2 separate regions of the Homo sapiens genome follow, and region 2 is linked to region 1. Evidence: promoter capture Hi-C in 16 types of primary human blood cells and fetal thymus (Javierre and others, 2016). All regions are on one chromosome and are shown on one strand. Each heading gives the region's core, a stretch centred on a gene start or on the middle of the fragment in contact. The rest is flanking DNA. Distances are from core to core; before and after follow the strand shown. Region 1 holds the start of MYO7B (myosin VIIB). Region 2 overlaps WDR33 (WD repeat domain 33).

What was found. The method cuts DNA at HindIII sites, captures the fragments that hold promoters and counts their contacts. A CHiCAGO score of 5 or more calls a contact.
Region 2: a contact is called between a fragment that was not itself captured here and the fragment with the promoter of MYO7B in region 1, in 1 of 17 cell types (naive B cells). The highest score is 6.0, in naive B cells.

What each region holds. Positions count from the first base shown.
Region 1 is chr2:127,534,352-127,540,934 of GRCh38, reverse strand. MYO7B (myosin VIIB) reads right to left here and starts at 5,252. Exons shown (of 48, transcript NM_001393586.1): 1 at 5,104-5,252. RefSeq lists an enhancer at 4,370-5,220. The HindIII fragment of the contact is 11,396 bases long and covers 1-6,155 here.
Region 2 is chr2:127,718,820-127,725,920 of GRCh38, reverse strand. WDR33 (WD repeat domain 33) reads left to right here. Exons shown (of 22, transcript NM_018383.5): 9 at 706-860; 10 at 956-1,034; 11 at 1,478-1,588; 12 at 2,574-2,668; 13 at 2,877-2,963; 14 at 3,191-3,330; 15 at 3,933-4,085; 16 at 5,568-6,656. Among named protein-coding and RNA genes, the nearest start is that of SFT2D3, 21 kb to the right of the region's middle. RefSeq lists an enhancer at 3,359-4,558. The HindIII fragment of the contact is 2,078 bases long and covers 1,617-3,694 here.

The sequences.
Region 1 (6,583 bases), core at 4,003-6,502:
CCCCCTTTCCTATACAGAGATAACCCTTGAGAAATTATTCTTCATTAGAGAGACAGCCCTTGAAACACCGTCCTTCATGTAGACGTAGCTCCACAGAAGCCCCTGTTCACTGTATCAGTGCCTTTTCAAAAACCCTCCCTCATTTTAGAGGTAGGCCATGAGAAACTTTCCTCTACTGTAGAGATAGCCTTTGAAAACCCTCATTCATTTGTGGGATGGTCCTTGAGAAATCCTGCTTTATTCTAGAGCTATCCCTTGAGAAGCCCCACTTCATGAGATAGAGCAAAAGCCCATTGGATGCCCCCCTTCATTCCAGAAAAAGCCCTTGAGGAACACTTTTTCACCGCTGGTGGGAATGTAGACTAGCACAACCACTATGGAAAACAGTAGGGATATTCCTTAAAGAACTACAATTAAACCTACCGTTAGATCCAGCAATAAGATAAGTCATTATATGAAAAAGACACTTGCGGCTGGGCGCGGTGGCTCACGCCTGTAATCCCAACACTCTGGGAGGCCGAGGCGGGTGGATCACCTGAGGTCAGGAGTTCGAGACCAGCCTGGCCAACATGGTGAAACCCTGTCTCTACTAAAAATACAAAAATTAGTTGGGTGTGGTGGCGGGCATCTATAATCCCAGCTACTCGGGAGGCTGAGACAGGAGAATCATTTGAATCCGGGAGGCGGAGATTGCAGTGAGCCGAGATCACGCCATTGCACTCCAACCTGGGTGACAGGGCGAGACTCCATCTCAAAAAAAAAAAATAAAACCAGAAAAAGACAATTGCACGTGCATGTTTATAAGAGCACAATCCACAATTGCAAAGATATGGAACCAACCTAAGTGTCCATCAACTCATGAGTGGATAAAGAAAATGTGGTATACGTACACCATGGAATACTACTCAGCCATAAAAGGCAATGAAATAATGTCTTGGGCAGCTACTTGGATGGAGCTGGAGGCCATTATTCTAAGTGAAGTAACTCAGAAATGGAAAACCAAATATCGTATGTTCTCACTTATAAATGGGAGCTAAGCTATGAGGCTGCAAAGGCGTAAGAACGATACAATGGACTTTGGGGACTTTCGGGGGAAGGCTGGAGCTGGGTGAGCAACAAAAGACTACACATTGGGTGCAGTGTACACTGCTGTGGTGATAGGTGCAAAAAAATCTCACAAATCACCACTGAAGAACTTATCCATGTAACCAAAAAACACCTGTACCTTAAAAACTATGGAGTTTTTTTTTTTAAAAGAAATAGCCCTCAAGGAAGTCCTTATTCATTCCTTTTTATGATAGTCCTTGAGAAGCCCCCTTCATGCTGAGATAGCCCGTGAGGTGCCCTCCCTCATGTAGAGATAGTCCCTGAGAAATCTTCCTTCCTTTTCTACAAATAGCTCTTTAAAAACTCTCCTGAATTTCCTGTTATAGCCAATGTCGTTTTCTCCCTTTTTATCCCCTTCATGACATTGCAACAGGAAAGCTGGTCTTCCCCTTGGAAACTGGCTTTTGCCTAACTTGAGAACATTATTAATCTTTACTGCATAGTTTTGTGCGTGACTATCTGGAAGTTCAGAACAAATTTTGTGTCTATGCCTAGCAAATATATGGGATTTTCTGATGTACATTTTGTTTACTAACATTTTCCCAGCTGCAGTGTATTTTCCTACCTTCATTTATCCTACGTCCCAGCTTATTTTATTTTTGATTCTGTTGTATTATAGGTATACTGTAAGCTGCCTCATATCACTCTGTTTTGTTTAGTATTTGAATAAGGCAGGCAAGGGATGAAAGAGAAATTGACAGATACATATACTTGTGCATGAACCACTGCCCTGTGGTTCCTTTTCATACCCTCAGTACTCTGCCCCCAGCCCCCAGAACAGAGTAGGAGCTCAGACAGACACTGTGCTGAAAGTTTTCCAGCACCTGCTCATTAGTTTGATCTGTAAAACAACCCTGCAAGGTAAGTGATGCTACTCCATTTGATAGAAGAGGGAACTGAGGCTTAAGGCCCCACATTTGGTAGGTGACTGAGTCAAGATTTCTTGACTCAAGATTTCTGCAGAGCCTGGTGCAGTGGCTCACGCCTGTAATCCCAGCACTTTGGGAGGCTGAGGAAGGTGAATCACATGAGGTCAGGATTTCAAGACCAGCCTGGTCAACATGGTGAAACCCCATCTCTACAAAAATACAAAAATTAGCCGGGCGTGGTGGTGTGCGCCTGTAATCCCAGCTACTCGGGAGGCTGAGGGGGAAGAATTGCTTGAACCTGGGAGGTGGAGGTTGCAGTGAGCCGAGATCATGCCATTGCCCTCCAGCCTGGGCAACAGAGCCAGACTCCATCTCAAAAAAAAAAAAAGAAAGAAACAAGATTTGAATCTGCAAATGTTTGGCTCCAAAGCGTTTGCTTATTCCACTTCACCTCTCTCTTAACCTGATGAGCAAGACCCTCTAGGTTGCACTGTCCGATATGGTAGCCACTAGCCACATGTGGCTATTTAAATTTAAATGAGCTGAATTAAAAATTCAGACCCTCAGTTGCACTAGCCACACTTCAAGTGCTCAACAGCCACTTGTGGCTAGTGGCTACTGTTTTGGACAGTGCAGAAGAGAACATTTCTATCATCATGGAACGTTCTAGAGCATATCTTACCACCCCCCTCAACCGTATTTCATCCCTGCCAGGCGCCAACAGTGCCCAAGCCTTACTGGTACTTCCTTTGCTCTGTATCTTTGCAGCTACCACTTCCTCCACCTGGAACATCCCCCGTTCCCCACCCTCATCCTCACACCATCCTCCCCTCACAGCCTGCTGCATCCCTTCCCACCCCTACCTGTCCTCAGCCCCAGGACCGCCTCCTCTGACCACTCAATGCCGGAGGTCTGTGCCTCTGGTGTACATGGGTCACTTTTCCTTCGCAGCCTCGCCTCCCCAGCTGGCAGTGAAGGAACACACTACACACTGCTGGAAAGGCAGACAACAGAGTCTACAATGACACTGGATTTGAAAACTTGACTTCATCCTGAGCTCGTCTTCTGCCGCTAGCTACTCCATTCATTCATTCAGCATGTGCCAAGTGTCCATTCTCTGCTGAGGCCTGGGCATGTGCAGGAGATGGAAAAACCCCAGAGAAACCCAGCCCAGGCTCTCGAGGAGCTCATAGTCCAGTGGCCTTGGTCAAATCCTTCCTTCTCCTCCTCCTCCTTCTCCTTCTCCTCCCCCTCCTCCTCCTCCTCTTCTTCTTCCTCCTCCTCCTATTCCTTCTTCTTATTCTTCTATAGAGATGGAGTCTCCCCATGTTGTGGGCTCAAGCAATCCTCCCACCTCGGCCTCCCAAAGTGCTGGGATTACAGGCATGAGCCACCACCATGCCCAGTCTCCTTTACCCTTCTTCATCTCTTCTGTGAAAAATGTGCTAAGATTCTGGCTCTTCCTCCCTGAACAGCTTGGTATGTGGACCAAGAATGGGCACACAAACATCATTTAAATACATGTGTTAAGTAAAATGTATGGAGGCCATTGGTTTTGTCTGAGCTCCTACACAAGGCCAACAGACCAGACCAAAATGGAGTCACTCATGCTGAAGTTCCACACCACCAGGCCCAAACGAAGGTTATCTGACCTTCCAAGAATCAGGAGAGAGACAATAGCTGGAGCCCCAGACAGGCCAGTTTCAGCGGGCATGATAAGGAAGTTCCCTCAGCTCTATCCTTTACAAGGAAAATAAATTGAAATGACTAATCCCCTTTTGTTTTCTGTTTCTCTCAGCCCCATTCTGTCTATAAAGCCAAACTCCTCTGCTCGGCTCATCAGATCATTCATTGTATTCTATAAGTGGGGTGTTGCCCAATTCTAGAATTGCAAATAAAAGCCAATTAAGATCTTTAAGATAAATTTTTTATAATTTTGTCTTTTGACATATGTAAAACAGGAAGCAATATCAACACATATAGGTCATCCCTGTGGTGCCGCCTCTCCACAGAGCCCCGTGCTAGAGCTGTGGATGCAGCAGGCCCCAAGACAGCCGCCTGGGGAGGATTCTCTTAGAGGTGGCATCTGAGGACAGACGTAGGGCCCCCAGCAGGTCCAGGGAGATGGGGTGGGCTGATGAGCTGAGTGGTTCCTAACAATGATTCACTGAGGGTGTGTGTGAATCTCTGAACTAAAATCCTAAACAAAGTGCAGGGTTCTGATAAATTAGAGCAAAATTCAAGTCCAGGGTTACAAAGTGGAGCCTGAAGGGGAGGCCTCGTCATGGAGAATTTGGGGGATCTGGGTTGGGGGCCCCACACCCACCAGCTGTCTGACCTGGGCCAGCTCTCACAATCTCTGTGTCTCAAGTTTCGTCCTCTGTGAAATGGGGATGGGACACACACCACCTGGACAGCTCAAGGGGGACAGCCCATGTGAGCCCCGGTGCGGTCCCTCTCCTCAGCCACCTCTTCCCCCACCCCCCCCCCCACCACACCCCAGACCTGTCCTGCCTCTCCCTAGGGTCCCAGCCTTCCAGAGGTGACTAAAGCCAATTGCCCAAGGTACATGGGTAAGGCGGATAAGCCTGGGCTTTGGAGTCGAATCCGGCTCTGCTTCTTCCCGTGGGCACCTTCGCTTCCATGGTCCTCAGTCTCTGTGTCCATAAAATGGAGGCAATTCCACCACTGTGTTGCGAGGACGCAGTGGGATGTCACACACGGCACAGCTGACATCTGGCAGGGGCTCATCATGGGACCCAGGCTATCCATGATGTCCCATGATTCCACAGTGAGGCCCTCTAGCTGTGAGGAGGCTTCAGGGTGGGAGCAGCCTTGGCACCTGCCGTTCCCCTCCTGCAGGGAGTTTGCCCTTCTACAGCAGAGGGCTAGACAGCTTCTCCCCCTCCTCCTCCTCCTCAGCCCCCCAGGTGCTGCCCTTCAGCCCGATGGACTGAGTCCCCTGCTGCGGTTTCTGGTTTCCAGGCTCCTGAAGGGCTTCTCCACTCTCTATCCCTCAGACCTGTTCCATCTTATTTCCAGGGGACCTGCCTCCTGCCCAGCGACCCTCTTCAGAGAGGTGACCCCCTACTCCCCGCTGGCAGACACGCCCCCGGCACGCCCTTACCTTGTCAGGATGGGGGTCTGGCTGACTCCCCTTCCCCTCCACCCTGGGCACCCTGAAAGAGCCAGGAAAGGAGGCAATGTTGGGACTCCGGGTGTGTCAGGGAGTAAGGGACAGAGGAAGAAGAGGTAGGGCTCCAAGAGGAAATGACTGGGAGCACTCTGGGCCCACGTAATTTATTACAGGACTTTGTCCCTGGGCTCCAGGCACTTCCACTCCCACACGCCTCCCTCAGCCCCAGCTGGCAGAGCCTCATGATACCTGCTCTTTAACCCAGGCCCCTTCTGCAGAGCAGCGATGCATGCTGCCCGGAGGCCACCAGGGTTTGCAGTCTGTGCACCTGCTCTGGCCACCAGCCAGATCCCATGGTGACAGTCAGCTGACCATCCGGGGGCTCAGCATCTTCCCAGGTGCTGCATGGCAGGAGCTCTGCCCCCAAGCACCCCAAGCTCTAATTGAGGGTGGTAGTATAATATAAAATACAGTATATTTGGTCCTTGTTCCCGGTTGGTGTCACAGAACTCCTAAAACCCTTAGAATTTCCAAAGTGATCGTCGGGCATGGTGGCTCACGCCTGTAATCCCAGCATTTTGGGAGGCCGAGGCAGGCGGATCACAAGGTCAGGAGATCAAGACCATCCTGGCTAACACGGTGAAACCCCATCTCTACTAAAAACACACACACAAAAAAATTAGCTGGGCGTGGTGGCGGGCGCCTGTAGTCCCAGCTGGAGGTTGAGGAAGGAGAATGGCGTGAACCGGGGAGGTGGAGCTTGCAGTGAGCCAAGATCGGGCCACTGCACTCCAGCCTGGGTGACAGAGCGAGACTCCGTCTCAAACAAACAAACAAACAAAAAATTTCCCAAGTGATCATCTCATAATGAGTCCGTTTGATAACACCTGAAGTTATGCTGAGGAGGTGACCATGTGGGGGCCCTACCTAGCCTCAGCATGGGGTCAGTCACCAGAAAGACCTAGTGAATAGAGGGTTGGAACTTTCAGCCCCGCCTACTGACCTCTGGGAAGGTAAAACTCTTGAACAAGATTTGACAAGCTTCCACACATCTGAGGTCCCTGGGGGGTGGCATGCGGGAGAGGGCATGGAAGCTCCATGACCTTCCCACACAACTCACCTGTGCGTGTTTATTCGGCTGCTCATCTGTAATCCTTTGTAAAATCTTTTCCCACGAACTGGTCAATATGAGTGCCGTCCTGAGTTCCATGAGCTATGCTAGCAAATCCAACCTCAGGTGTGGGGCATGGGAACCCCGATTTATAGCCAATTGGTCAGAAGTATAGGTGGCAACCTAGGACTTGAGACTGCATTTGAAGTGGGGCAGTTTTGTGGGACTGAGCCCTTAACCTGTGGGATCTATGACTCCAGGTTGACAGTGTCTGATTGAATTGAATTATAGGACATCCAGACGGAGTCTGCTGGAGAACTGCTTGGACACCTGGTCAAGAGAGTGTTCTGTGTTGAGTGT
Region 2 (7,101 bases), core at 1,406-3,905, 190 kb before region 1:
TTTTATGCTTTGTCTTAATTAGAGAAACTTTATGGAAGTTTCAAAATGTAATGAGCTTTATTGAATATTAATTTCTGTGTTCATGTGCTTCCCCTGCTTCACGGATAAATTTTACTGTTCAGTGGAAGCTCTGCTACTGTATTATTATTATTATTATTATTATTATTATTATTATTATTATTATTTTGAGACAGAGTCTCGCTCTGTCACCCAGACTAGAGTGCATTGGTGCAATCTCGGCTCACTGCAACCTCTGCCTCCTGGGTTCAAGTGATTCTCCTGCCTCAGCCTCCTGAGTAGCTGGGACTACAGGCATGCGCCATCACGCCTGGCTAATTTTTGTATTTTTAGTAGAGTCTGGGTTTCACCATGTTGGCCAGGCTGGTCTTGAACTGACCTCAGGTGATCCACTCGCCTAGGCTTCCCAAAGTGCTGGGATTACAGGCGTGAGCCATCACGCCCAGCCTCTGCTGCTTTTTTAACTGGTTGATGAGAGCTGTCTTTGTCTGGGCAGTGCATATTATTTCTGTCGTTGACTTGTTTCTTTCAAGTGTGTTTATAACTGTGATCCTTTAATGTTACAGGCTTTATTGCTTCTAGGCCAAACCTCTTGCCATCTTGATTAATTCGCTTTTCAACAAAAATGGCCATTGTATTTATACTTGTTTTGAATTCTGACATTTTTTTTTGATACTTTGTTTCTAGTCATGCCCATAAAAACACAGTAATGGAAGTGAAATTAAACCTCAATGGCAATTGGCTACTCACAGCATCACGTGATCATCTCTGTAAACTTTTTGATATCAGAAACCTAAAAGAAGAGCTTCAAGTCTTCCGAGGTCATAAGAAAGAAGCCACAGGTCAGTGGCTGTGATATGCTTCTCATTGACCACTGTTACCTGTAACATTCTCAGATCCTGATAATTGTGTCTTTTCCCATGTTTTTGTTCTGCAGCTGTGGCCTGGCATCCTGTTCATGAAGGACTTTTTGCCAGTGGAGGGTCTGATGGTTCTTTGTTATTCTGGCATGTTGGGTATGTAAGATTTATGTGAAAAAGTAGTGTATTTTGTGAAGAGAGCACGTGAATGTGTGCAGACATGATAGTTTTGTAGCTTTTCTAAGTGTTCATATATCCTATATCAGAGACTGCTTGCAGTTTTCAGTTCTGTAAATCCAGCTTGGAATAGAAAATGTACCTCTGTTTGTGGATATGGAAGTCATTAAGGAGGAATAAAATAGATTTTCTAGTTTCTAAATGCTTGCAGCCTTTTCCCCTGTGAAGTGCTCTTTGGATGAAAGGGTAACTGTCCTTTGGCAATGACAAGCCAATACCCCGAGACATGTGGAATTCACCAGAGTCCAAGTCCAGGCTTTGGTAGCTTCATTTTAAGAGTAACAGAAAATGTCTTTTTTGAGGGGGAGGGAGAAGCTGGGTAACTTTTGTGAACAAATCTTCTCTCTTTGGTGCTGTTGCAGGGTAGAGAAGGAAGTGGGTGGGATGGAGATGGCTCACGAAGGGATGATCTGGAGTCTGGCTTGGCATCCTCTTGGGCATATTCTCTGCTCAGGCTCAAATGACCATACTAGGTAAGCTTTATATTGAAATAGCAAAGCTTTATATGGAGCAACAGGAAATAAATACTGTATGTGTTTATTTTTATTGGTTGATTGATATAGTAATTTATATTCCAACTTATTCTTGGGAATATTTTTGTAGTGGTTTACAAATACTTATATTGCAATAAAGAGATTGGGTATTGAATATGGTTTTGGCTATTCAAATTTTGTTTTGCCTTCTGACTTAAAACAGAAGTTTTCCACTTTTATTTATTTATTTATTTATTTATTTGAGACAGGGTCTCTGTCCAGGCTGGCGTGCAATGGTGCGGTCTCAGCTCACTATAGCCTCAACCTTCCTGGGCTCAGGTGATCCTCCTACCTCAGCCTCCTGAGTAGCTGAGACTATAGGAGCACACCACCACACCTGGCTAATTTTTGCATTTTTTGTAGAGATGGGGTTTCACCATGTTGCCCAGGCTGATGTCAAACTCCTGGGCTTAGGCAATCCTCCTGCCTCAGCCTCCCAAGGTGCTGGGATTACAGGCATGAGCCACCTTGCCCGGCCCCACATTTTATTTTTATTTTTATTATTATTTTAAGAGACAGAGTCTCACTCTGTCACCGAGACTAGAGTTCTGTGGTGAGATCACAGCTCACTGTAGCCTCAAACTCCTGGGCTCAAGCCATCTTCCCGCCTTATCCTCGTGAGTAGCTGAGACTACAGGTGTGTGCCACCACACCCAGCTAACTTTTTAATTTTTATTTTGTAGAGACAGGGTTTCGCTATGTTGCCCAGGCTGGTCTTGGACTCCTGGACTTAATCCTCCTGCCACAGCCTCCCAAAGTGCTGGGATTACAGATGTGAGCCAAAGTGTATGACCTCACATTTTAAATTTGTAGAAGAAACAAATTGTAAAAATGTGTTGTGTTTACCAAGGGTCTGCCTAGTACTGTTTAGTGCCCAAAAAAATAGTGAAGCCATGCTTCTTTTCTCCTTTAATTATTTTTACAGCAAATTCTGGACTCGAAACCGACCAGGTGATAAAATGCGAGATCGATATAATCTAAACCTTTTACCTGGAATGTCTGAAGATGGAGTAGAATATGGTGAGACTCTTGCACATCTGTCCTTCTTTGAAATCTGGTATTCTATTACAGAAGTGTTAGATGTTGGGAAGATTATACAAAATGAATTTTAATTTTATAGTAGATTTATTTATAAATCATCAGTGACATTCATTTTTATAAAGCATTAATTTTATCAGTCGCTACTTTTGTAAATTCTCTATTGACAATGGTGTATTACTATTTATAGATGACCTCGAACCTAATAGCCTGGCAGTAATTCCAGGAATGGGAATACCAGAACAACTAAAATTAGCTATGGAACAAGAACAGATGGGTAAGAGAAGTTACACAGACACATTTAATTTTTACAAATTTTTTCTTGACCCGTTTATGTTCCTGATAAATATATTGAAATACCAAAATGATTTATGTTGAGAAATGTTGATAAAAATTATATAAATGACATAATACTTAAAATCTATTCTTCCAATAATGTGTTCATTGATCAAGTGGCCAATTTCTTTTATTTAAGAGGCAAACCACTTTTCTTTACGGTTACAGGGAAAGATGAATCAAATGAAATTGAAATGACAATTCCAGGTTTAGATTGGGGAATGGAGGAAGTGATGCAAAAGGATCAGAAAAAAGTACCTCAGAAGAAAGTTCCTTATGCAAAACCCATTCCTGCTCAGTTCCAGCAGGTAAGTAAAAGTGACTCCACCTCATCCACGCAGAGAGGTTTTGGTTGGTTAGTTTGAGGTTTCTCTTGGATTATCTCACTGTTGAAGGTGTTTCTGTACTGGAGCATTTTTCCCATGTTCACGTACTCTTAGACATGGTTCTCATCTACTGCTTTGCAGTTGTATTGAGTTTGTTATCAGTCTTCTCTGTTCTGTCCTCACCTGCTTATTATCATCCATGCTATGAGAGGAAATAGAAGAAAGAGGCATGGAGCAGAGGGAGTATGGGAGTATGTTGCTTCTCTTCTCCATTGTTTATCTATCTTGTGCTTTAATTGTCCCCTCAACACAAAGTGCATGTACCCTGTGAAGAGGCTGGCAAGCTTTGCATTCTTAATAACATGCAGTGTCTTGCAGCTTTTATCACCATAGTAATTTCTACCTAGTAATATGTCAGTAAGAATTAGCATGAGTCATGTACTTGAGTCATGGAGAAAAGGTAAAAAGAAATAAAATCGGTTCAGAGGTTAGATTGAGCAGATGACATTGTAGAGTGGTTTTCTCATTCTATCATTGTAATTTTCATACTTAGCGTACATTTTAATATTCTCTTCTTTCCCAAGGCTTGGATGCAAAATAAAGTTCCAATTCCTGCTCCAAATGAGGTGCTGAATGACAGAAAAGAAGACATTAAATTGGAAGAGAAGAAAAAAACACAAGCAGAAATTGAGCAAGAAATGGCTACATTACAATATACTAACCCACAACTTCTGGAGGTGTGTGAAGCTCTGTAGGGGGGAATTCAAGATGATCTAAGAGGGTAGTGGTGACATTTTTATTGATAGGCTCTTAAGGAAAAGGGAAGGGGCTCTCCCATGGTCTGACAAACACCGCCATTTCCTGTTGCTATGCTAGAAGACTAGTTTCCAAAAGAATCCTGTTTCTTAAAATTTTTTAAAATGTGTTATTTATGTATTTTGTTTTATTTATTTTATTTTAGAGACAGAGTCATGCCCTGTCACCCAGGCTGGAATGCAGTGGTGCGATCACGGCTTGCTACAACCTCTGCCTCCCAGGCTCAAGTGATCTTCCCACATTAAGCCTCTTGAGTGGCAGAGACCACAGGCATGCACCATCACGTCTGACTAATTTTTTTTTAAGTGACTTCCTTGAGTCATATCTTGGACTTTTAAAACCCAATTAGGGTCAGGCGTGGTGGCTTACACCTGTAATCCCAGCACTTTGGGAGGCCGAGGCAGACAGATCACCTGAGATCAGGAGTTTGAGACCAGCATGGTCAACATGGTGAAACCCCACCTCTACTGAAAATACAAAAATTAGCTGGGCATGGTGGTGCATGCCTGTGGTCCCAGTGACATGGGCGGCTGAGGCAGGAAAATGGCTTGAACTCCAGAGGCAGAAGTTTCAGTGAGCCGAGATCGTACCACTGCACTCCAGCCTGTGCCACAAAGTGAGACTCTGTCTCAAAAACAACAACAACAACATAAAAAAACTGAATTAGTGGGGCAGTGAGTAGATCTAAGTTAAATATACATTTTTAATAGAAAAGATAAAGCCAACATAGTTTTAATTTGAATTCACCTGTTTATGAAAGAGTTTTTCCTTTTTGTCTGCTCATATAGCAGGTAGCTTGTTCTTATTTTTCTTATCTATGTTAGCTACCAAGAATGATGAATTAGTGGTGAATTATTGGGCTTTCCCTGATCAAGATGGACAAAAATAATCCTGACTAGGCCAGGCACAGTGGCTCACGCCTGTAATCCCAGCACTTTGGGAGGCGAGGCGGGAGGATCAGCTGAACCCAGGAGTTTGAGATCAGCCTGGGCAATATAGCAAGACCCTGTCTCTACAAATAATAATTAGCTGGGTGTGGTGGCATGTGCCTGTAGTCCCAGCTACTCCGGAGGCCGAGGTGGGAGGATCACTTGAGCCCAGGAGGGTGAGGCTGTAGTGAACCACGATCGTACCACTGCATTCCAGCTTGGGGGACAGAAAAAAAAAATAAGGAAAAAAAAATCCTTACTACTGTGTCCCAGGACTTAAAAAGAATGAGAAAGAACCTAAAACTCCTTACAGTGCTTGAGTGTTGCATGGACTCTAATTACCACTGGAGCGTGAAGAGTTTGAGCAGTTTTTATGTTTGAGAGTCCCCTAACAGAATACATGATAGCAATATTGTCATCTTCAAGGGCTCTGGCCTGTTTATTCAACATGCTTTTTTCTTTCTTTCTTTCCAGCAACTTAAAATTGAAAGACTTGCACAGAAACAAGTTGAGCAAATTCAGCCTCCTCCCTCATCTGGCACCCCTCTCCTCGGACCCCAGCCTTTTCCAGGACAAGGTCCAATGTCTCAGATTCCTCAAGGTTTTCAACAGCCCCATCCATCTCAGCAGATGCCAATGAACATGGCTCAAATGGGGCCTCCAGGTCCACAGGGACAGTTTAGGCCTCCTGGACCCCAGGGACAAATGGGACCACAAGGTCCTCCACTGCATCAGGGAGGTGGGGGGCCACAAGGATTCATGGGACCACAGGGGCCCCAGGGCCCGCCCCAGGGGTTGCCACGGCCTCAGGACATGCATGGGCCCCAAGGAATGCAGAGGCATCCTGGACCTCATGGCCCTTTGGGACCTCAAGGGCCACCTGGACCACAAGGTAGTTCTGGTCCTCAAGGTCATATGGGTCCTCAGGGTCCACCTGGCCCACAGGGTCACATAGGCCCCCAAGGCCCGCCTGGCCCTCAGGGTCACTTGGGCCCACAGGGGCCTCCGGGTACTCAAGGTATGCAGGGACCACCTGGTCCCAGAGGAATGCAAGGGCCTCCTCATCCTCATGGGATCCAAGGCGGACCAGGGTCTCAAGGGATCCAAGGTCCTGTGTCTCAGGGACCTCTGATGGGATTGAATCCAAGAGGAATGCAGGGGCCTCCAGGCCCCCGGGAGAACCAGGGTCCTGCTCCCCAAGGGATGATTATGGGCCACCCGCCTCAAGAGATGAGAGGACCTCACCCTCCAGGTGGACTACTGGGACACGGCCCTCAGGAAATGAGAGGTCCTCAGGAGATCCGAGGCATGCAGGGGCCTCCACCCCAAGGATCAATGCTGGGACCTCCCCAGGAATTGCGAGGGCCTCCAGGCTCACAAAGTCAGCAGGGGCCGCCCCAGGGCTCTTTAGGACCTCCACCCCAGGGTGGCATGCAAGGACCCCCCGGACCTCAGGGACAGCAGAACCCAGCAAGAGGGCCACATCCATCTCAAGGGCCAATACCATTCCAGCAACAGAAAACGCCTCTGCTAGGTGATGGGCCCCGGGCCCCCTTCAACCAGGTATTATTCATTTCCAACTCACGGGCACATTGGGAAAATACACTCTGCACAGAAGTAATACTGCTGAGTATTGTGGAAAATGGTCACAGCTGGATATAAATACTTATCAAGTAGTGACAGTAGCTTAAGATACTAGCATCCTGGCTGAAGAATGAAATCATAAGAATGATGAGTTAGGTTATACTCCCATTAAGTACATCTCAGTATTCATTTTTACTTCTCACCATTTTTCTTTTTTTGGTAATAGAGTTTCTTCAGAAAAGGTCAACTCTCATTTGAGTACAGCTGATAATTGTCCCAGGGCTCCAGGAGAGCTGTGGCCCTGAGGAGGAAGCATGTTTTACATGGTGGTCGGCTCTGAGGCTGTCATGCCTCCTTTCTGGGCCCTTTACATTGCAGCCTGGTGTTCCATGGGCCTGCCAGCCACAGAATCACTTCCTGTCTG